Linked DNA regions of Homo sapiens: regions 1, 2, 4 and 5 are each linked to region 3. Evidence: promoter capture Hi-C in 16 types of primary human blood cells and fetal thymus (Javierre and others, 2016). All regions are on one chromosome and are shown on one strand. The core of a region is centred on a gene start or on the middle of the fragment in contact, and the rest is flanking DNA. Distances in the headings are between cores, read along the strand shown. Region 1 overlaps LOC105371664 (a long non-coding RNA gene). Region 2 overlaps GLRX2 (glutaredoxin 2). Region 3 holds the start of RGS2 (regulator of G protein signaling 2). Region 4 overlaps RO60 (Ro60, Y RNA binding protein). Region 5 overlaps RO60 (Ro60, Y RNA binding protein).

Region 1 (3,994 bases), core at 412-2,911, 270 kb after region 3:
CATTGCTTTATTGTTTGCTATAGGAATTAGATCTAGGCCAATGAGAGTCAATATCTGCTTTCTTGATAAACATTTTCCCTCTAAGCTTCCAACTCCGTATTTATTTATTAAGCTTAAAGTAACACAGAATGTCTTCATTATTATGCAAATAAATATTTCATTTTTGGATTTATTTAACAAATATCATGTGCCAGTTTTGTCCTGGGAATAGTACTTAGTACATAAGAAAAGCTGATGACTGTGTCTATGACAAGGAATCTTTAGTGAGGAAACAGACATGTAGACAACTTCAATATAAATCAGATAACTGGTTTGAAGGAGTAATGTACAGAATGCTATAGGAACTCAGAAAACAGCTTTCCTATGTCACCTAGAGACAGCAGGGGCCTCATGGAGGAAGCAGCATTTAAGCTGAGAAGCAAAGCCTGAGTAGGAATATTCTAGACAGTTTAATATGTGAGAGTGGAAGGATATTCTAGGAAAAGGAAATAACATTTCATATAACAACTGTTCTCAGTGAGGAGAACATGGGAACGAGATTAGACAGGAACATAGGACCAGTTGGCCACTGACCTCAAAGGGATTTGCAGGTATGAGATCTGTGTGGTAGAAACTACAAGTACTGCAAGAAGTCGGAGAAGGGAGGTTTCTTGAGGTACAGAGATGCCAGCTCTGTGCAGGGAGTAGAATTTGACTAGGACTTGTACTTGGAAAGACTGAAGGGAACATTGCTCCAGGTTTGGTGAGCAATGTGGACCACTGTCCAGAGGTTGTATCAGTGTGGTCCCCCTGTTGGAAAGTGAAATGTATAAACCTGTTTTTAGCAGAGGCACATTTTTGAGATGGTAAAATTAAAGCTGGACATGTTACTGGGACATGTTATCAAAAGCTAAAAATTCTGGGGGTCACTTAAGGCAGTAAGACAGAAAAGTGTAGCAGAAAATGCTGTAGCTGGGAGTCAGTGGATTCAAGAACTGGTGGGGTCTATCGTTGGTTCTGTAATGTTGGAAATATCACCCAGTCCTCAAGCTTCTGGAGCTATAATATATAAAATGAGGATTGTTAAACCTCATACTCTGTAAGGCCACTCCACTTCTAAGTTGCCATATGTGTTTAATAAATAGGGACCTGTTGAAATTTTTAGCGGGTTTTATTGTGCTGTTGTTATTTGGCCTTAAGAAGGAAGTATTAAGTTTAGGGAACTGGGATTTAGATTCAAGGGTTTTGAGTTCAAGTTTTGTTTCTGTCTCTTGCTACCTTCATGACATTGATTAAGAAAGTCATTTAGTCTTCTTGAGACCATTTTCTTATCTGTGAAGCTGGGATGATGTTTGCTTTGCTTAAAACATAGGTTGAGGATCAAATGTGATGAATATATAAAATATTGTGTGTTCTATAAGGTGCTACAGGAAATATTTTAAAAGACATAAAGTGGTAGACTATTATGGTAATCTTATGCGAGGAGATATAATTTGGAGATAAGTAGTACCTATGAGAATAGAGAGCTACAAACGTATAAGACATTTTGAATGAAATATAGATAGAAAATAGATAGTGACTTATCTTACAGGTTGATGAAAATGAGAGATGGAGAGAGTGAAGATGGCAACAGTGACTAAGGAGTGTCGACCACATTTATTTAAAATCTCTGTGCTGGTCACTGTAGAAATTCTATTTTAATGTGAATGGATAGTGTAATAAAGTAAGTTTTTGTGGTCTGGTTCAAAAGTAGGCCAAAATGAAAATTTTACTTGCAAATTTCAAGAAGCAAATGGAAAGAGAACCAGGCCTTAGAATATATTTGCGTTTCTGTATTGCCCACTAATATTTTTGTATAACACATTTTAAGTAATAAAAATCTGATAATTTATTTGTCCACCCTGGAAAGGAAAAAAAGATAAGCTATAAAGCAGTCTAATTTTATCAAACCATTTTTGGATACCTTATAAGTAAAGTCAGAAAACTAGAAGTGAAAAGGGAATGCTTCTAGAAACTGTAGTGAGGTCTGCATCAAATCCTAAGACATGTTTTTGCTCCAGGTTTCCTGCAATTGCTACCATAAAGGGAGCATTTCAGACCCAGTGCTCTGTAATGTGGTTTCTTTCCTCTGGAATTCCTCCAATCCTTCATGAATAGCTGGAGGAATGCAGACCTCTGGAGGCTGTATTTTACAGGTTGCTATGGAACTGTCTAAATATTATGAACAGTGCAGTGGTATATGACATACGACAGCCCAATGCCATGAAATTAGGGCAGCTAGAAATCATTTCCATACCCTTGAAATGTAAGCTTCTAGTTTAAAAGAATGGCATGAATGTTTTTCATAAATAAATTATCCTTTATCACACTAAGTTAGATCCTGGGTGGAGATAGGAAGTCTGGGACTTCAAAAGAGCTTTAGTTCAGAGAGAGGCCTGTAGACCCTAAGAAGCAAATACACAAGCAGGCCAGGGGAGGCCTAGTGAGGGGAAGGAGGAATATAAAACTTCGTAGTTTTCAGGATATAGATTGTAATGTTGATGTTACAAAGAGAACTGCTTTAAAAATCTCACTCCAAAGGTGTGCTTGGAGGTAAACAAGCTAACATAACTTCGGGATCAGGCAAGTCACTTAGAGCAAAAACGGGGCTTCCTCTTTCAACACCCTTTTTTTTGTGCTGTGAGACCCCCAAACTCTCAGCTACTCAGGGTTTGATGCTTGACTTTTTCTCAGATTCCAATAATTGTTTATGAAACCTGATTCAAATTTTAAGTCAGAAGTTACCCACCATAAAACATACCTCCCCCTCCTCCCTGGTTCTACTTAAGTTTCATTTAAATAAGAAATATAGCTCTCTGGGTACAATTTTTTGAATAACAGTTCTGTGAATGCTATTTGCTTCTGCAGGTTATGCCAAAGGCAGTTTCCTCTCTGAATGAATGTTTTTAATGTGCAAATTCAAAATACAACGAGCCTACGTCATAAGCTGCACTAAGTGAACAGAAACTAAGTGCAGCTGGGCTTTGTGGCTTTTCTTGTTTTCTTTCCTTTTTTCTCCCCTTCTTCAGACAGTTGCTATTGAATAGTTTTTTTTTTTTTTAATGAAAGAGGGTAAAACATTTCTCACAAATCCTTTTGCCTGCACCAAGAAATTCAAATTAAGCAATTGAAAATGTAAAAGGAACAAATAAGTTTTGCTTTGCAAGATGTAGGGGAGCCCATCTGTCTTGAGTATCTGGTTCAGTTTCATTAAGAGTTGCAAGTATCCACTTCATGTTGCCTCTCTATTTTCTTATCTACCCTGCCTGGGAGGAGAGGACAATCGCCTTCCCATTTTTCTTTTTTGGTTTCTTATTTAAGTAGCATAAAATATATTTTAAAAATACATTTTTGTTTATGTAAGGTTTTTTAGATATGCCACCACCTGAATATCCCTGTGTAGAAAAAAAGGATAAACTCCCACTAACAGTGGAAAAACATCCCTATTTCTCCACATCCTCTCCAGCACCTGTTGTTTACTGACTTTTCAATGATCACCATTCTAACTGGCATGAGATGGTATCTCATTGTGGTTTTGATTTTTCTAATGACCAGTGATGATGAGCATTTTTTCATATGTCTATTGGCTGCATAAATGTCTTCTTTTGAGAAGTGTCTGTTCATATCCTTTACCCACTTTTTGATGGGGTTGTTTGTTTTTTTTTCTTGTAAATTTGTTTAAGTTCTTTGTAGATTCTGGATATTAGCCCTTTGTCAGATGAGTAGATTGCAAAAATTTTCTCCCAATCTGTAGGTTGCCTGTTCACTCTGCTGATAGTTTCTTTTGATATGCAGAAACTCTTTAGTTTAATTAGATCTCATTTGTCAATTTTGGCTTTTGTTGCCATTGATTTTGGTGTTTTAGATGTGAAGTCTTTGCCCATGCCTATGTCCTGAATGGTATTGCCCAGGTTTTCTTCTAGGATTTTTATGGTACTAGGTCTTACGTTTAAGTCTTTGATCTCTTCAGTTGATT
Region 2 (4,090 bases), core at 71-2,570, 290 kb before region 3:
TGACAGAGCAAGACTCCATCTCAAAAAGAAGACTAATATTTCATGCTATCCAGTTTAAAAAATTCTGCTTGGGACTATTGCAAAAATTAAACAAAACATAAAAAGTAGCTTTATGTTTACATTTAAGAACATTTAAATTTTAAATGCACCCCCAATGAATGAATACAGTATTGATTTGAAGGCAGAATATTTGAGTTTTATAACATAATCACAAGGATAATAGTTTTTTAAATATTTGAAGTTTCAAAAATTCTCTTATTCTTTAGATATTCGAGTAATTCTCTTTTGAAACATCTATTATATGTCATAATCCTCTTGTAAGATTTGTAATTTTACTCTGCAGTTAGTTTGCATCATGGTGTTTGATATTGTTCCAACAGTGCGGTAGGGCCTGGTTGACCAAGAAAGATGAGTGGATGGGGAAGAAAAGGTTCCAGGGATAAAAAGATTTGATGATGATAAACTGGTTGAGTTTTTTTTTTTAGTGATAATTTTCCTGACAATGAATGCTTCCTTTTACAAGCTCCCAATAGCTAGGTTTTGGATAATAAATACTGAGATAATGAGAGGTCCTGTATTCAGGAACTAATAGTAGTAATGTTAAACATTATTGAGCATTTACTATGTGGAAGGCACTTATCTGCTTTCTGCGTATGAATTCATTTAATCTTCACAAAATCCTTTGAGACGTGCCAGTGATTATTGTTTCCACTTTGCAGACTAGGAAATTTGGAGCTATGGCCCATTGCGGTTGAGATACTGTAGCTTCCTCAAAAATCTTTGAAGATTCCCTGCTTCACAGTGTGTTCATAGAGTTTTGGCATGTTTTACTAAGAAAATAGAAACTATATTTTTAAACCAATGGTCAGGTCATATGGCATAGGATGGAATATTTGAAATTTGCCAGTTATAAATAAGAGTGTGTCAAGCTTTAAACACAGTAAATATGATTTTATCAAATAATTAAGGGTGTTGGGAAGCTAGTTACATAAGCACACAGGCCTTTTTGGTTTTAGTGAAACAAATACTTTGTATATTGACATTTTGTACTGATAATAAGTAAAATTTTTTTCTATTTTGTAAGTTTGGCTATATTTGTTTATGAGATTGATTTTTTTCAAATAAAACTCGTGATAAATTATCCTTAATGCTTAATAAACTACATTGTTCTCTTAAATTCCTTTTAGGATGGAGAGCAATACATCATCATCTTTGGAGAATTTAGCGACGGCGCCTGTGAACCAGATCCAAGTGAGTGATGTGGGAGATGATTGAAAAACTTTCCTCTGTAGAAAAAGAATTGTCCCTTATATATTTAATATGCTTATTCAATATCCAAACTTGAGATAGTTTAGCAAATGAATTAAGAGATTAATATTTATTTTAAAATCTGCTATGAAAATCATCCTTGTGACTAAGAAGTCCTAGATCATTTTGGTAATTAAAACGTATGAGATTTATTCTTAATGAAGTCTTCACTCCCTCTAAGTTGGATAATGAGGTTGGCTGCTCCTTTTCATCATACCCACTTGAGGTCTAGTGTTGATACCAGTCAAGCTGCCCTTAGCTAGGGATCCTATTTGATTTTGGCCTGGGAAGCAGTTTAACAGTTTTCTTTGTTAGTACAGAACCTAGTGTGCAGTAGTTACTCCGTAAACCATCCTCTCAGGGATAGGACTTCTTTTCCTCTTTCTTTTACTGAGAAGCTTCGTTAATTCTGCCTTAGAAAATCTCTCTTACATGTATGTTTTTCTTCCCTTGCAACCTACAAGACATACCATTTTTTCTCTCTTGCTTACCACTCACTACTACCACAAACAAAAAAAATGTCTGCCTTTAGTTGATTTGGCTAAACTCCTAGCTGTTGACTATAACTGTGAGGGAATTGCTTTTTTATTTGTTTGTTTTGTTTTGTTTTGAGGCAGCGTCTCGCTCTGTTGCCCAGGCCAGAGTGCAGTGGTGCGATCTCAGCTCACTGCAACCTCTGCCTCCTGGGTTCAAGCAATTCTCCTGCCTCAGCCTCCCTAGTAGCTGGGATTACAGGCGTCCACCACCACACACAACTTATTTTTGTATTTTAGTAGAGATGGGGTTTCACCATGTTGGCCAGGCTGGTCTTGAACTCCTGATTTCAAGCAATCTACCTGCCTCGGCCTCCCAAAGTGCTGGGATTACAAGCATGAGCCACCGTGCCTGGCCTGAATTGCCTCTTTTAAAGTAAAAATACAACATCATGGGATATACAGTTAAGGGCGAGCTTGAGAAGTGGGAAGAGAGTTCTAGAAACCCTAACGCTGTCATCTTTAGTTTCAGCTCACTTTGGAATCTCTTCATCAGTGTCTAATATATGTCAGAGCCCTGGAAGCTCATCTCTCCCTACACGATGGTGTTAGTGTGTCTTGTAACCTGAGGCAGCATGGTGGAGGGAAGAGCACTGGCTTTGGTGTTGTGACAAGGTTGAGTCAAATCCCAGTATTACGAACCACTCAGCCTTAGTTTTGTCCTCCGTAAGATGGATTCATTAATACATCTCTGGTATGGCAGGCCCTCCCTAGGATGGACTTTTATACTAAATATTACTAGTAAACACAAGGGAATCATAAAAATAGACCAACTTGCAGACAGCTGGGCTAAAACTCAGGACCCTTCTGACACCCAAGGGTGGGTATAACTTCTGAAGCATGGGTCTTATACTTTCTGGTTTTTGGCCTTCATCTTGAAGGTACTGCTTATGATCCACCACAAAAGAACAGACTAGACAGGCTGGGCACAGTGGCTCATGTCTTAATCCCAGCACTTTGGAAGGCCGAGGCAGGTAGATTGCTTGAGCCTAGGAGTTCAACACCAGCTTGGGCAACATGGCGAAACCCTGTCTCTACAAAAAATATCGAGGTGTGGTGACACATGTCTGTAGTCCCAGACACTTGGCAGGCTGAGGTGGGAGAATCACCTGAGCTCAGGAGGTTAAGGCTGCAGTGAGCTGAGATCGCACCCTTGTACTCCAGCCTGGACGACAGAGTAAGACTGTCTCAAACAAAAACAAAACAAAACAAAAAAAAACCTAGACAAATGTCTGGGTGCTAAATCTATCCATTCAAAATCTTTTGAAGGTCCCAGGCATTCATATGTTTAGAAACAAAAAACAAAAAGAAAAACTTCATAGGCTGCGTGGATGCATAGCAGAATCTCATAGCCATTGTGGTAAAGGCCTGGAAGGTAGTTTTCAAACCAGGCTGATATCATCATTATATGGAGAGGTTTTTTAAACATACAGTTTTCAACTTCTACCTCAAACTCATTGAATCAGCATTTCTGGAAGTAGCTTTTCCTGAATTAAGAGTATGAGAATACCTTATCAAGAGAGTAATGACAGCTTTTGTACTATAAAGGTATATAGGAAAGGATAGAAGTAGAGGGGTAAGCCTTACATTTTAAGAAGAAATCATATACCATTCCTTACCATTGAAAGTTATAGAATAGAAGGTAAGGAGTTAACTCCTGAATACCTACTGAATATTTGAAAAGAAGTATAATGTTTTGGGGCTGGGCGCGGTGGCTCACACCTGTAATCCCAGCACTTTGGGAGGCTGAGGCGGGTGGATCACCTGAGGTCAGGAGTTTGAGACGAGCCTGGCCAACATGGTGAAACCCCGTCTCTACTAAAAAACAAAAATTAACTGGCCGTGGTGGCAGGTGCCTATAATCCTAACTACTCGGGAGGCTGAGGCATGAGAATCGCTTGAACCTGGGAGGCGCAGGTTGCTGAGATCCCACCACTGCACTCCAGCCTGGGGGACACAGTGAGACTTTGTCTCAAAAAAAAGAAATGTACAATGTTTTGGTTTTTTTGTTTGTTTGTTTGTTTGTTTTGAGACAGAGTCCACTTACTGTGTTCCTCAGGCTGGAGAATCACTGGAACCACCTCCCTGGTTCAAGTGATTCTCCTGCCTCAGCCTTCTGAGTAGCTGGGATTACAGGGATGTGCCACCATGCCTGGCAACTTTTGTGTTTTTAGTAGAGATGGAGTTTCACCATTTTGGCCAGGCTGGTCTCGAACTCCTTACCTCAAGTGATCTGCCTGCTTCAGCCT
Region 3 (4,207 bases), core at 189-2,688:
GCTTTTGCGATGTTAGCAATGGCTCAAGCTCAAGAGTTAACTTACATTTGCTGGCTAGCAGCTCGTCAAATGCTTCTGACCACAGCTGTGCTTCCTCAGGAGAAGGCCTGCAAGAGAGGTTCTGTATGTTAGCTTACGCACATCAGAGTTCCCCTTTTCAGTTCAGCAGCTAACTATTGATATTTGCAAGCACAGGATTCTCAACTTACTTGATGAAAGCTTGCTGTTTGCTTTTTTTGCCGGTTTTGGGCTTCCCAGGAGTAGAGGAATTTTGTAAGAAGTAGCTCAAACGGGTCTTCCAATCTTTTAAACTAAAACAAAAAATTAAAAAGATAATTACTAACTAGCAACACTTGAATATGCTACTGCAGCTGAACGCATTTTTACCAAATAAAGTCACCCAGTAACTAGAGACAAACCGCATAAGGCAAAGCAAGAACTCTTCAAATAAGTCTTATCCACCTAACATTTAAACCTCATGTACTGAGCAGTTTCGTCCATTAATCTGACCGTATCTACTAGTTTTACAACTAAGGGCAGGGCTACCTATAATCACTAGGGTATTTTAAAGAATTGTTAATGAATTTAGTTCAAAAGGCAGACACTATTTCTGGCTCACAAAGGGCATCAGTTTGTTTGCAAGGTTAATTACAATTCCGAGACGTTTTGCACTTTAATGAAAAGGACAGACATGGAACTGTCTGGAGCCGGCCCACGCTTCTCTCTTTAGAGCAGGAGGTTCTGGACCACGCCAGAGACTGTACAAAGAGGTGGGTGACTGATTCCCCTGCGCTCTTCCTTCCCCACCTACGACACTTCTTTTAAGCAGACGCTGCATAACAATTATTTGTTCCACATTCGGACTGGGTGAGATCTGCTCTATAATTAAAAAACAAAAATGGATTTTAAACGAGTATATTCAGAACCAGCAAGAGCATCACCTTCCAGTAGCTGTGTAAGCTGATGAGAACTCATCATGCAACGTATGAATGCTGGGGACGCGCTTCAGCCGCAGGATTCTGATGTCATTTTGAATGCAGGAGGACAAAAAGCCAACCCGCAATTTCTTAGCGCATCAACCACCGCCCTCATATCAACTGTCTCCCTCGGTTCTTAAACTGTACCCGAGCATCACCCAGATTTAACCTTACTTAACAAATTGACCTTTTCGATTTTTTTTCCCTGCATAGGCTCAGGCTAGTTTCCTAACGTCAAAGGCGAGCCCGAAAGTACCGCGTTTGCAGCTTGCAGTGTGGGGCAGGGGGTGGCGGGAGAGGGAAGAAAGCCATACTCACAGGGTCCGTTTCATCTTTTCTCGCTTCTCCTCGCTCTTGTGGCCACTGCCTGCGCTCTTGTCCATGGGTCTGCAGTCGTGTTGAACAGCCAAGAACATAGCACTTTGCATTATCGTTCTCCCGCTGGAGCCCCGGCTGTTTGCGGCTGGGCGTGCGTCGCAGCATTTATGAGGCCTCGGCTTGGGGGCGGGGCCTCGCGGCTCCGGCCCCGCCTCAAGAGGACGCGGATTGGTCGGCTGCAGACTGGCACGGGGATGGGTCAGCGCCCGCCGGCGGCAGTCACGGCTGCTGCCGAAGGGTCTCGAAGCCGGGGCGCTGCTGACGTCTGCGGCCCCGGCTTCTTGCGCACTCGGGCCACATAGCAGCGGCCAGCTGGGGCAGGTGTGGGAGCAGATGGAGAGTCTTCAGTGTGGGCCGCTGCGCACGACCTTTTGCTGAAGCGTGGCGGCCGGGCGGGCTCGAGGGCTTTGCGACGGAGGGAGGGAGCCGAAGTTGGCGGCGGCCCGGCGGGGGCGCCGGCGCTCCCTCACCCACCCTGACGGGCTCCCCAGCCCGAGGCCAGAGCGGCGATTCCCTGGCAGGAGGAGGTCGCCCGCCACGAGGCCGGAGTGCAGTGGCCTGATTTCGAATGAAGAGTGGGATTTTTCTTCCTTTTTTGAGCGCGTTCCCTGACCCCGCGCCTCATTTCTTGTTTGCTGTCCTGCTGTAGGACTCATTCGACACCCCCTGGTCTGTGAACTGAGGCAATGGGGAGACCCTCGCCCGTTTCTCTCTGCCACTTAACTTAAGGAAGGAGTAACCTGAAACGTTGATTGCCCAGGGGCAGGGTGGGATCTGCTCTGCAGCTTGCTGGGGCGTCTTGGAACACTTTGAGAATGAACATTAGGGATTGAACAAGAGAAAGTGACTTTATCAGAAGACAGTGCTTTAATTGGGTTTGCATTTTTGATCACTACTAGGCACGTGGCTGGGTCTGTCTATAGGGTCATTCCTCAGGAGTCCTTGGTCACATCTCCTGCCAAAATAGAAATCACAGATTTCCTTATGGTGGGAGAGAAAGCTGCAGACATAGAGATTTCATAGCTGTAATGCACCAGAATCAGTGAGTTCAAGGAGTCAGGATTTCCTCATGAGTCATTCTTGTTGAGTTAGGATTTACCAGAACATTTAATAACTGGCAAAAAGTAGGGGGGAGAATGAGTTAACAGTTTCCTTGATTAAGTTTTATTTGTTAATTCTTCAAGTATCATCTCTACTCCTGAAGGTTTTAAAACGACTTGATTGGTAAAGACAAATAGATTACCTCAACCACAAAATGAGTTGATTTCGGATAATATTACCAGAACTAGCCAGTGAAATGTTTAAGCGGCTTTGCAACCAAGCTGCAGATATTCTCTCTACTTTGTATTCGACTTCTTAAAAGGAAATTGGAAATAATTAATATATTCTTACGGTGAGCTGCCAGTAGTTGGAGCTCCAAGTTTGACTTGGAGGGCAAAACCTGCAGTTATTATTTAAGACAACAGTTGTGGACTTTATTGTGGAAAGGAAAATCGTGTAGATTTCAGTAATAGATACTTTGAAACATGCTTGTTAACTCTAGGAATGCCATTTTTTCTTAAGCATATGCTCTTCCTCTCCTATGCTTTGCATAATAGTCCTACATCTATTTTCACTTTCTGATGACTCAATACGTATTTATCAGCTGTCTGTAATACGCAGACACTTGCTTTTTCTCACCACTGTAAACCTCAATATATTTTATACTTAGAACCTTAGATGTTAGAATTTACTCATAGACAGTTAAATTCGCTGGCAGGCCAGGAGTTCTGACAAAGAGGCAGCAGAGAGAGAGAGCTGGACTTCTGTCAGGAGACCCAGTTAGAGCCTGGGCTTATCCAGTAAATGCTAAGTAACTGTTGGGACACTAGCTTCACACCTCTTTGAGTCCCAGTTTCTCATCTGTAATAAGAGTAACATGTATTTTCTTGCCAGCCTCATAGGATATTATGTGACTCTTACATGAAAGGTCTTTTCTAAGCTCTAAAGTACTGTACGGAAGTTTATTACTGATTTGCATATGTGTGGCAAAAGGAAATGTTCAAATCATAGCTGTTCAAGATGGAAAAAATCGTACGAGGATTAACTCAGACGTAATTAGGTTATAAATATGTAGGTACTATTAAATATCAAGATGTTTCAATTTGTAGGTACACAAATACACAAGATACACAAATTTGTAGAAGATTAAGCTCATTATAGATATTTAATAAATGCTCACTGGATAATACGTAGGAAAAATAAGGAAACTGATTAACATTTAAACTTTTCAGGCTGGGTATTGTGGTTCATGCTGGAAATCCCAGCACTTTGGGAGGCTGAGGCAGGTGGAAGGCTTGAGCTCAGAAGTTCGAGGTTCAAGCATTCAAGTTACAGTGAGCTATGATTGTGCCATTGCACTCCAACCTGAGTGATAGAGTGAGACCCTGTCTCTTAAAATAATAATAATAATTAATTACACTTTTCAGATATCTCCAAGCCAAGGAAGTTTAATCATCTCAATATATTAATGAAAGTGAATATACATGTACCTGCATAAGCAACTGGTTTAAATATAGATTATTCTTGATGTTTTTGTGTTTAATATAATTCTTTGCTTTTTTCATAAACCCTTCCAGATCAGTGACTGATGTTAGGTGGCAGAAAATTAATTTTTCTCTGAAAATTATGTGGTTGGTTAATAAATCTGGATATAAATCAACTTGTAATTTTTGTATCTATATGTAATTTTAAGAGTTAAGGCAGTACCTGCTATAGAAACCTTTTCCTCAAAAACTTGCCATGTTAATGTCTTTTAAAAGACAGGCCAATATATGTATATTTACATATACATGTAATATATGTGACATGAA
Region 4 (4,167 bases), core at 348-2,847, 260 kb before region 3:
GTTGGCAGGCGCTGTAGTCCCAGCTACTCAGGAGGGAGGCTGAGGCAGGAGAATGGCGTGAACCCGGGAGGCGGAGCTTGCAGTGAGCCAAGATCCTGCCACTGCACTCCAGCCTGGGGGACAGAGCGAGACTCTGTCTCAAAAAAAAAAAAAAAAAAAGAAAGAAAAAAAATTTTTTTTTCTCCTCATCACAGGAAAATCACACTCATTTGTGGGGATAGAATCACAATGCAAACTGTAGTTAAGTGCTGTAGTAGAAAAGTATTATGAGTGAGCAAGGGAGTATAAAATAATATTGTCTCAATAATCCAGAAAGATTTGTGCAGAGAAGGCAAATTGTGATTAAGTGCTGTAGTGGAAAAGTGAGTGAGCAAGGAAGTATAAAATAATACTGTCTAAATAATCCAGAAGGATTTGAGCAGAGAAGGCAAACTAAAAAACTGATAAAGTTTAGGGAAGGCGCTCCAGGAAGAGGTTTCTGAAATCTCGATCTGTCTTTATATTCTAGAAAAGAAACTGTCTAAGCATCCTGTAGAGCCATAAAGACATGTTGACAGATACGGTCATAACTTAAAGAGGAACACAAGATAAAAGAAGTTTTGTTCTGAAGATCATGCTTACTTGAACATGTTTATATATTACAAGGAAGGCTAAGGATAGAATCTTGGTGAATATTAACCATTAAAAGCTAATGAGAGAAAGGCCTTTTAAAGAGAGACGGAAAAGGAGGTGCACAGAGTTGAAGAAAACCGACAGAGAATAGTATCATGGACTACAAGGAAGAGAACTTCAAGGAGTGAATGGTTGGTAATTTCAAATGGTCAGAGGAAAAGTAAATAAAAGGCTAGAAAATGACCACTGGGTTTAGCAAGTAGGAGTGACTAGTGAGAGCAACTGCAGTAGAGTGGTATAAGAAGTAGCTTGATTACAGTGAGATCAGGAGAATATGCAGTGAGGAAGAAACTTCACAGCTAGACTACTCTTTTGTAGACACATACTTATAAACTATGAAGGAAAGTAAAAGAGGATGGGACTTAGAGAAAAAATCTTTTTACCTTTTTCAATGGGAAGATGCTAACATTGAAAGATTCAATTTGGAGAGCTGAAGATACAGTAGAGAAGGGGGATAACTGAAGGAATTTCTTAAAGAAATGAGAATGAGCTTAGAGCATCCAGGTTGAGACTGGCCTACTGACAGCAAGAGATATTTCCTTTATCTTTTAAGGGTAAAGAGTATAGGTAAAGATAGATTTGAAGGAATGAGGGATAAGGAAACTGAAGACATTCCCCCCTGACAGGAGATGTAGAATGCCAAATGGTATGTGGAGAAGTTTGGTAGAGAGGGGAGGAATGAAAGACTGGGTCTCAGAGAGGGGAACACATAGTGGTGTAGGGATAAGTGCATGGGAGAATGAAGAGCCTCACATTTTGAATGTGACTGAGGGGGACAGTGATCTGAATTGTGTTCGGAATATTAGTGTCAATATTCCAAATAAGACGCTAGTATAAATTTGCTTATGTTAGTGGAAGCCTAGGTCTCAGGTGGCATCAGAGATGTAATGATCATATTAGTCATTAGGGACAAATTCATAGTTACTGAATACAGCATAGGTTGAAACTCCTGTTGCAGTGGATGCCTGTTCTCCTATTTATTATTATCCTCTTTTCAAATTTGGCTTTTATCTCTACCTTTCGATCCAAAACACTTTAAGAAGACTAACATGCTTCTCAAAGACTGATACCTTAATTGCCAATTCCAGTAGACAATGTTATGTTTTTCTGATCTTTACATTACATAGACTTTGCTAGTCTCTCCCTCAGCTTTCATAAAAACAGGCTCTGGTTGCACTTCAACCTGTCTACTTCTGCTTATTAGTTTTATTTGTTAGATGAGTAACACTGAAATGACATCTAATATCAGATAATTCTACTAAACTTGCTTTCCTGCACCAAGGCCCAAGTGGTGGGATTTAAAAGGTCCCAAACCAAACCTCAAAATTCCCTCTCCCCTCAAATTCTTTTCCTTGTATTATTCATTGTGACCACATGTAGCTACATTATTGGTTCCCTTGAAAGTAGAAACCAAATCTTATCATTTTTGTCTCCTCTTTTGTATTGCTTTTATGTAATTAGCAATACATACTTAAAGCCAAATATCATTAAAGTTGACTTTCTGAACCATTTGCCAAATAATTATGCACAATTGGTTTCTCTTTCCCATAACACATTTTGAGAATAAAAGCCTCAATATTTATAATGCAAAATATAATACAAGTCTTTAAGATAAATTCTGTAATCAGAATGATAAATGTACTATATGCAGGTAGTGAAAAATATAATCAAGAAAAAATAAAGTTCTAAAGAAAAGTAATGAATACTGAGTAAAAATGTCATCTAAGAACAAAATTTCTGTTTTTCTAACATATTTAATATTAGGTATTCAGGTACTTCTCTAGAGCAAGCAGCAAAATGAACTTTTAAATCTATGAAGGATGTCTAAGAGGTAATCTCTAAGTATAATCCTTATAATCCCTATTAGAAGAAATAAAGTTACTTATTCATGGACTCTTCCTTTTGCATGTTATGATATAAATGACAACCCTGAGGACATACCCTTTCAGTATTTCTGCAGCAGAAACTGCTCAGGTTTTCCTATGCTTCTGTGACTGTACTTTCCAGAGTGCAACATAAAACAGTGGAACAGATAACATTATTAGCAGCCAGGGCACCTTCCTACTTGATTATATAAATTTACCAGGGTCATATTCATATTTTAAAAGACAGAAAACAGAATAACATGTCCCAAGTTACTCTCCTTCTTGTCACTGAGTGTGATACACACATAAACTCAAAATTCGGCAAAGTGATGTGATACTGTGGCATCTTATAAGAGAGAGTACCTGGTCTTTGGACATAATACCCAGCAGAAAGTTTCAAAAACCCGTGGTATTTCCTGAGAAATAGGAGTGTCTTTGTTACATTAATGAGGCAACATGGGCCCCTAGGTAGCTTCAGGATGGGGGCTAATCACTAGAAAGACCAACTATATGTTTAGAGGAATAAACTGGTCAGGCCAACCTTCCATGAAAGGAGGAGGACTTGAGATCAAGTTCAGCCATGTAGCTAATGATTTAATCAATCATGCCCATGTGATGAAACCTCATAAAAACTTTCTTCATCGATACTCAGTGGAGCATCCTTGGTGAACAAAAACTGATGTGCTGGGAAGGTGATGTGCCCACATTTCACAAGGATGGGCATGGAAGTTCTGCATCCTTCCCTTGCCCCAGACCTTGCCATATGTGTCTACTTCCTGTTTGGCTGTTCCTGAGTTGTATCCCACATTTCACAAGGATGGCATGGAAGTTCTGCATCCTTCCCTTGCCCCAGACCTTGCCATATGTGTCTACTTCTTGTTTGGCTGTTCCTGAGTTGTATCCCTTATAATAAAACTGTAATTGCAAGTAGAGCACTTTCAGTGAGTTATGTGAGTCATTCTAGTGAACTATCAGCCTTGAGGGGATTATGGGAAGTCTTGAATTTGTAGTCCGCAGGGCAGAAGTGTGAGTAGCCTGGGGACCCCATTTACAGCTGGTGTCCAAATTAATGGCATTCTTAGTGGGGACCTTGTCCTTTAATTTGTGGGATCTGATGCCAACCCTGGGCAGCTAGTGCCAGAACTAAACGGAAGTGGGGGACACCCAGCTGATGCTACAGAATTAGTGTTGGAACGCAGACACCAAAGGCAAAAGTGACAAAATAAAAAAATAAACTGGACTTTATCAAAATTTAAAACTTGTATTTCCAAGGACACCATCAAGAAAGTGAAAAGACAACCCAAGAAAAAGGAAAATATTTGCAAATCATACATACAATAAGTGACTTGTATCTAGAATATATTAAGAACACTTACAACTTAATAATAAAATGATAAATAACCCAAGTAAAAATAGGCAAAAGATGTGAATATTACTCCAAAGACACACAAATGGGTAAAGAATCTGAAAAGGTGTTTTTCCAAAGAAGATTATCAAATGGCCAGTAAACACATAAAAAGATGACGAACATCATTAGTCATCAGGGAAATGCAAATCAAAACCACAATAAGATACCACTTCACATCCACTAGGACAGCTATAATCAAAACAATAATATTAAGTGTTGGTG
Region 5 (4,191 bases), core at 890-3,389, 280 kb before region 3:
ACTCTTCTGAGACCATGTATTCCCATGTTGTGGGGAAATAAATTCTGGCACAGGAATGAAGAGACCAAGATTTCTAGGTTATAGTACTTCAAAATCACACTCTGTCTTGGACCTCAGCTCTCTAACAAAAATTTAAAAAATTAGCTTTTAGGTTTCTAAGGTTTCTTCCAGCTCAAATATGCCATGATTTGAAAAGTTACCTTCTGTGGTAGCTTCTCCTACTTATCCTTTCTTTCTTAAATGTTACCCTAGTCCATTTAATTAGACCTACCTAAATACTTCAGAAAGGTCATATCCATCCAATCTTGTATCCTTGATGGATTTAATATTAACTTATAGATATATTTGTCTAAAAGTATTATGGAAATAGTACACAACTGAAGGTAATGCACTTTTGTACTATATTCTATTTAACATTTCTATTAGGAATAAAATGATCATGTTATAATTTTTAAGATCTTGGGTTTACTTAAACAATTCAATAACTATTACGTAATTCTATTAGTTTCTTTAAACTTTAAATTCAATCTGAACGTAATATTTTAATGTGTCAAAAGTAGCTAATATATTCAGTTCAATGCTTGACAGGGTTAAAAACGTGAACAACATCAGAAGCAATGCATGTCTGGAGTGGGGGTGAGGGTGCTATGAGCTTTGCTGAACAAAAATATCTCAGGTAAATCACACTTAAAAACTGATACCAGTTGCCTTGAAGGAATGGGTACATATCAAAACCAGCATTAATATGTCAAATAAATTTGAAAGGAATATTTTCTTATTCCCAGAGCCCAAATTTCACATAAAACAGAAGAAAATATGTACAGAAATCCTCAGACTACTAAAGTCCCCCTTTCCCAAAAAACATAAACCCTCTAACCCCCAAGCACCTAAAAGGCTATAATTTACATTAACTACAGTTTGACTTTTCACATAACAGCGAGAAGGACCTTACAAATCCTCAGTAAATCTTCAATTAATATTTAGAGAACAACAGATACGCAAACAGGTTTTATGTGTAAGCTACCTTAGACGGCCATAATAAAATTATGAGCAAAGATAATGGCATTTCAACAGATTGCTTTAATGTTAAACCTCACAATGAAGGATACTTGCTCAATAAAATAATGCACTTTAGTGTAATGAAAAGTTTAATACATACAAATAATACTGAAAAAAATTCCTAGTGACTGGCTAGCTGGTAATATGCTACTCAAAAATTGCCTTTCAAACCTAAAGGACCTAGATTGCTTTATTATTTGTTTACACTATCAAAGAAGAATATTTTGCCACAAAATGAATAATGGACAAAGAGGCCATTGACATGTATACTTTTAAAAATATTAACTAAAAAAATAGTTAAAAGTAAAAAATTTTATTTTAAAAGTAAGGAAAAAGCTAAACTGGTTATAGTTGAGATTTTAATTGTTATACTTTGTGAATGAGGGGGAGTTAAGCGCTTGAAACATTTTATATTATTTACACTTAAGAGTATGAAAAACAGTGTGAGACTACATCTGGCTATGTTATTATAATTCAGAGGAAATCATTATCAAGTCACACCCCTTGTAGCAATAAAATATAACAAAGCAAAAAAAAAAAAGCAAACCAAATAGAATCCCTCAGCCAACACAAACTTAGTCTATTCTTAGGGGTTGCCATGATGTTTCTGATTAATGGTAACATATTCCACAAGTGCAAATAAAACATCAGAAATAAAATATCTTTTTCACTGAATAAGAAAGCTGTTATTTGTGTGATCTTAGTAAAACTCTGAAAGGAATTTGTAAAACTCATTCATAATTTAATCAAATGCCTTAGTTTTTTTTTTTACCCCCTTGGTATAAAAGTTTACAGATGAGTTTCATATTTCATCACAGTTATATGGTCTAGTGCATTTCAGAGTATTTGGACATTATCAAAGCTGTCCTTTCCCAATGAAAACATTTAAGAAAACGTTAAGCACTTCTCAAGTAACATGATGTGGAATTACACTTTTTGCTCTTACCTCTTTTAGGTACACACGTATTATTCAACAAAGCAAAACTATTTTACAGTGTCTGTTAACAAAAAGTTCTCTATTAGATAGAGGAAACTACAGTATCCTGAAGCTATTTCCCCAAGAGCTAGTTTAGTAGATAGACCTTTGGGCCCATCTTATTTTTCCTTCTTTTTTTTTTTTCAGTAAGGTAACTTTCCATTATGCACATACTATACCATCATCATTCATTGGGTGGAGATTAGCTGGGAAGTAGCTGTATATTTTTAGTGAGATCACTGATGGCAATGGATCTCTGGATCGTGCTGCTGCTTATGGTTAAATCATATCTAATGTGAAATTTCGAATTACATCCAGAGCTCCAGTATCAAAGCCGCACATATCCAACATGCCTCTATCATCTGGGTCTGCAATGGTGAAACCATTTGATGTCATTCCACAAACAATCAATTTAGCTGGAATATCCATTTTCTGTAGAAAAAGACCAAAATACATATTAAAAACATAAATGTAAGGAAATGCAAAATACCTCCAAAATTAAAACACTTTAACATTTCTCTACCAGAGCTTTTTAAATACAAAGTCATTTTTTTGCGGGGGTCAATCTTTTAAGGCTAGAATATGGGAGTTTTAGAAGAAGGGACAATAAAATTGTATAAGAATCTGCCTGAAATTTCTACTTCTCTCTTCAATTACTTTACTTGTTCTATGGGCTGCAGTGTACATTATTGAGCAGCCTAGGCACTTTGTACTTATGAAACCTGTCAGGTTATTAAGGGTGCCAGATATTTTTATCAACATATCAAATGCTGGGGCAGTGTGTATGAGTATATATAAGGACATATCTCTGGGATGATCAACTTTTGGCTGATGACTTTGATATGTGCGATATACACATGTTCCACGTAAGAACTTGTCCTCTACAGCTAAATGTAAGATTAAAATAATTGAATTTTTGAGAAAAACCAACAATCACTGAATGTATACACATGAGAAACTACAATGCACTGTTTAAATAATACATCTACCGTAACTGTTAAAACAACTCTAAGAGGTAAGTAACTTACTATGATGTAGATCAGTTAAATAATTTGCTCAGGTCCACACAGAGTAAGAGAAAGACTCGGGACTCACAACCAAACAGTCTTTACTCTACATTCTATCCTGGTTGGGCAGTGCCTCATGGCTGTAATCTCAGTGCTTTGGGAGGCCAGAATTTCAAGTTACAGTAAGCTATGATAGCACCATTGCACTCCAGTGATGGAGACCCCATTTCTTAAAAAAACAAAACAAAACAAAACAAAACTATTCCCTTACCTGCAGCTTTCAAACTTAAGCCTGCATCAGAAATCCTCTGGAGGGCTTGTTAAAACACAGTCCCAACGTCAGAGTTTCTGATTCAGCAGGTCTCTGACGGGCCTCAGGAATTTGCATTTCTAATACGGTCGCAGGTGAGGCTAAGACTGCTGGTAGGGAAACCACACTTTGAGAACCACTACTCTTCATCAACAAGTTCTATTTCTACTTCTAGTCACACTAGCCATATTTTAAGTGCTCAAAAGTCCCATGTGATTAGTGGCAACCCACATTGGAGAGTGAAGATTTATGTCATTTCAGAAAGCTCAACTGGAGGATACTGATTAGAACACAGATATGTCCATAAAACATAGAGCATAGATTATAGCTTTAATTTTATGTAATCCTTTTGCAAAACTCACTAATACTTTCAATTTTTCAAGGAGCACACTGAATTATTAAAAAAAACTTACAGCTAAGGTAAAACAAATATTCTGATTATTACCAAAAATACTGTTTGCAAAGGATATTCTTAGTAATGTTTAGCAATGGAAACTGGTTAAAATAAATTTTATGTGTGTAATCAATACTTTTTCTTATTTTAAGTACTGCTGAGTCTATAACGGACACTGGCTCCTATATAAGATACAGAACTACTTGTAGTAACATTTTTTGAAACACATAAGTGAATAAGAATCAAGAATGGCCAGGTGTGGTGGCTGTAATCCCAGCACGTTGGGAAGCCAAGGCTGGAGAATCGCTTGAGCCTAGGAGTTTGAGACCAGCCTGGGCAACATGGTGAAACCCCATTCCTACAAAAAATTAGGTGGGCATGGTGGCACGCTCCTGTAGTTCCAGCTACTTGGGAGGCTGTGGTGGGAGAATCACTTAAGCCTGGG

Evidence for each region. The method cuts DNA at HindIII sites, captures the fragments that hold promoters and counts their contacts. A CHiCAGO score of 5 or more calls a contact.
Region 1: a fragment that was not itself captured here is called in contact with the fragment with the promoter of RGS2 in region 3 in 3 of 17 cell types (total B cells, fetal thymus and naive B cells); the score reaches 6.5 in total B cells.
Region 2: a contact is called between a fragment that was not itself captured here and the fragment with the promoter of RGS2 in region 3, in 10 of 17 cell types (monocytes, total CD8 T cells, activated CD4 T cells and 7 more). The highest score is 12.7, in monocytes.
Region 4: a fragment that was not itself captured here is called in contact with the fragment with the promoter of RGS2 in region 3 in 12 of 17 cell types (monocytes, total B cells, total CD8 T cells and 9 more); the score reaches 12.8 in monocytes.
Region 5: a contact is called between a fragment that was not itself captured here and the fragment with the promoter of RGS2 in region 3, in 5 of 17 cell types (neutrophils, monocytes, naive B cells and 2 more). The highest score is 8.7, in neutrophils.

What each region holds. Positions count from the first base shown.
Region 1 is chr1:192,538,090-192,542,083 of GRCh38, reverse strand. All of the region lies in intron 4 of LOC105371664 (a long non-coding RNA gene), which reads left to right. Among named protein-coding and RNA genes, the nearest start is that of RGS1, 36 kb to the left of the region's middle. The HindIII fragment of the contact is 1,260 bases long and covers 1,032-2,291 here.
Region 2 is chr1:193,098,302-193,102,391 of GRCh38, reverse strand. GLRX2 (glutaredoxin 2) reads left to right here. Exons shown (of 4, transcript NM_197962.3): 2 at 1,188-1,251. Among named protein-coding and RNA genes, the nearest start is that of GLRX2, 5.1 kb to the left of the region's middle. The HindIII fragment of the contact is 777 bases long and covers 932-1,708 here.
Region 3 is chr1:192,806,270-192,810,476 of GRCh38, reverse strand. RGS2 (regulator of G protein signaling 2) reads right to left here and starts at 1,438. Exons shown (of 5, transcript NM_002923.4): 1 at 1,296-1,438; 2 at 210-311; 3 at 46-107. The coding sequence starts at 1,405. RefSeq lists silencers at 185-244, 1,752-1,961, 2,898-2,987 and an enhancer at 1,202-1,421. The HindIII fragment of the contact is 4,593 bases long and covers 222-4,207 here.
Region 4 is chr1:193,063,177-193,067,343 of GRCh38, reverse strand. All of the region lies in intron 1 of RO60 (Ro60, Y RNA binding protein), which reads right to left. Among named protein-coding and RNA genes, the nearest start is that of RO60, 5.6 kb to the right of the region's middle. The HindIII fragment of the contact is 6,967 bases long and covers 1-4,167 here.
Region 5 is chr1:193,082,855-193,087,045 of GRCh38, reverse strand. It overlaps RO60 (Ro60, Y RNA binding protein), which reads right to left. Exons shown (of 9, transcript NM_001173524.2): 9 at 1-2,467. The coding sequence ends at 2,315. Among named protein-coding and RNA genes, the nearest start is that of GLRX2, 20 kb to the left of the region's middle. The HindIII fragment of the contact is 6,162 bases long and covers 1-4,191 here.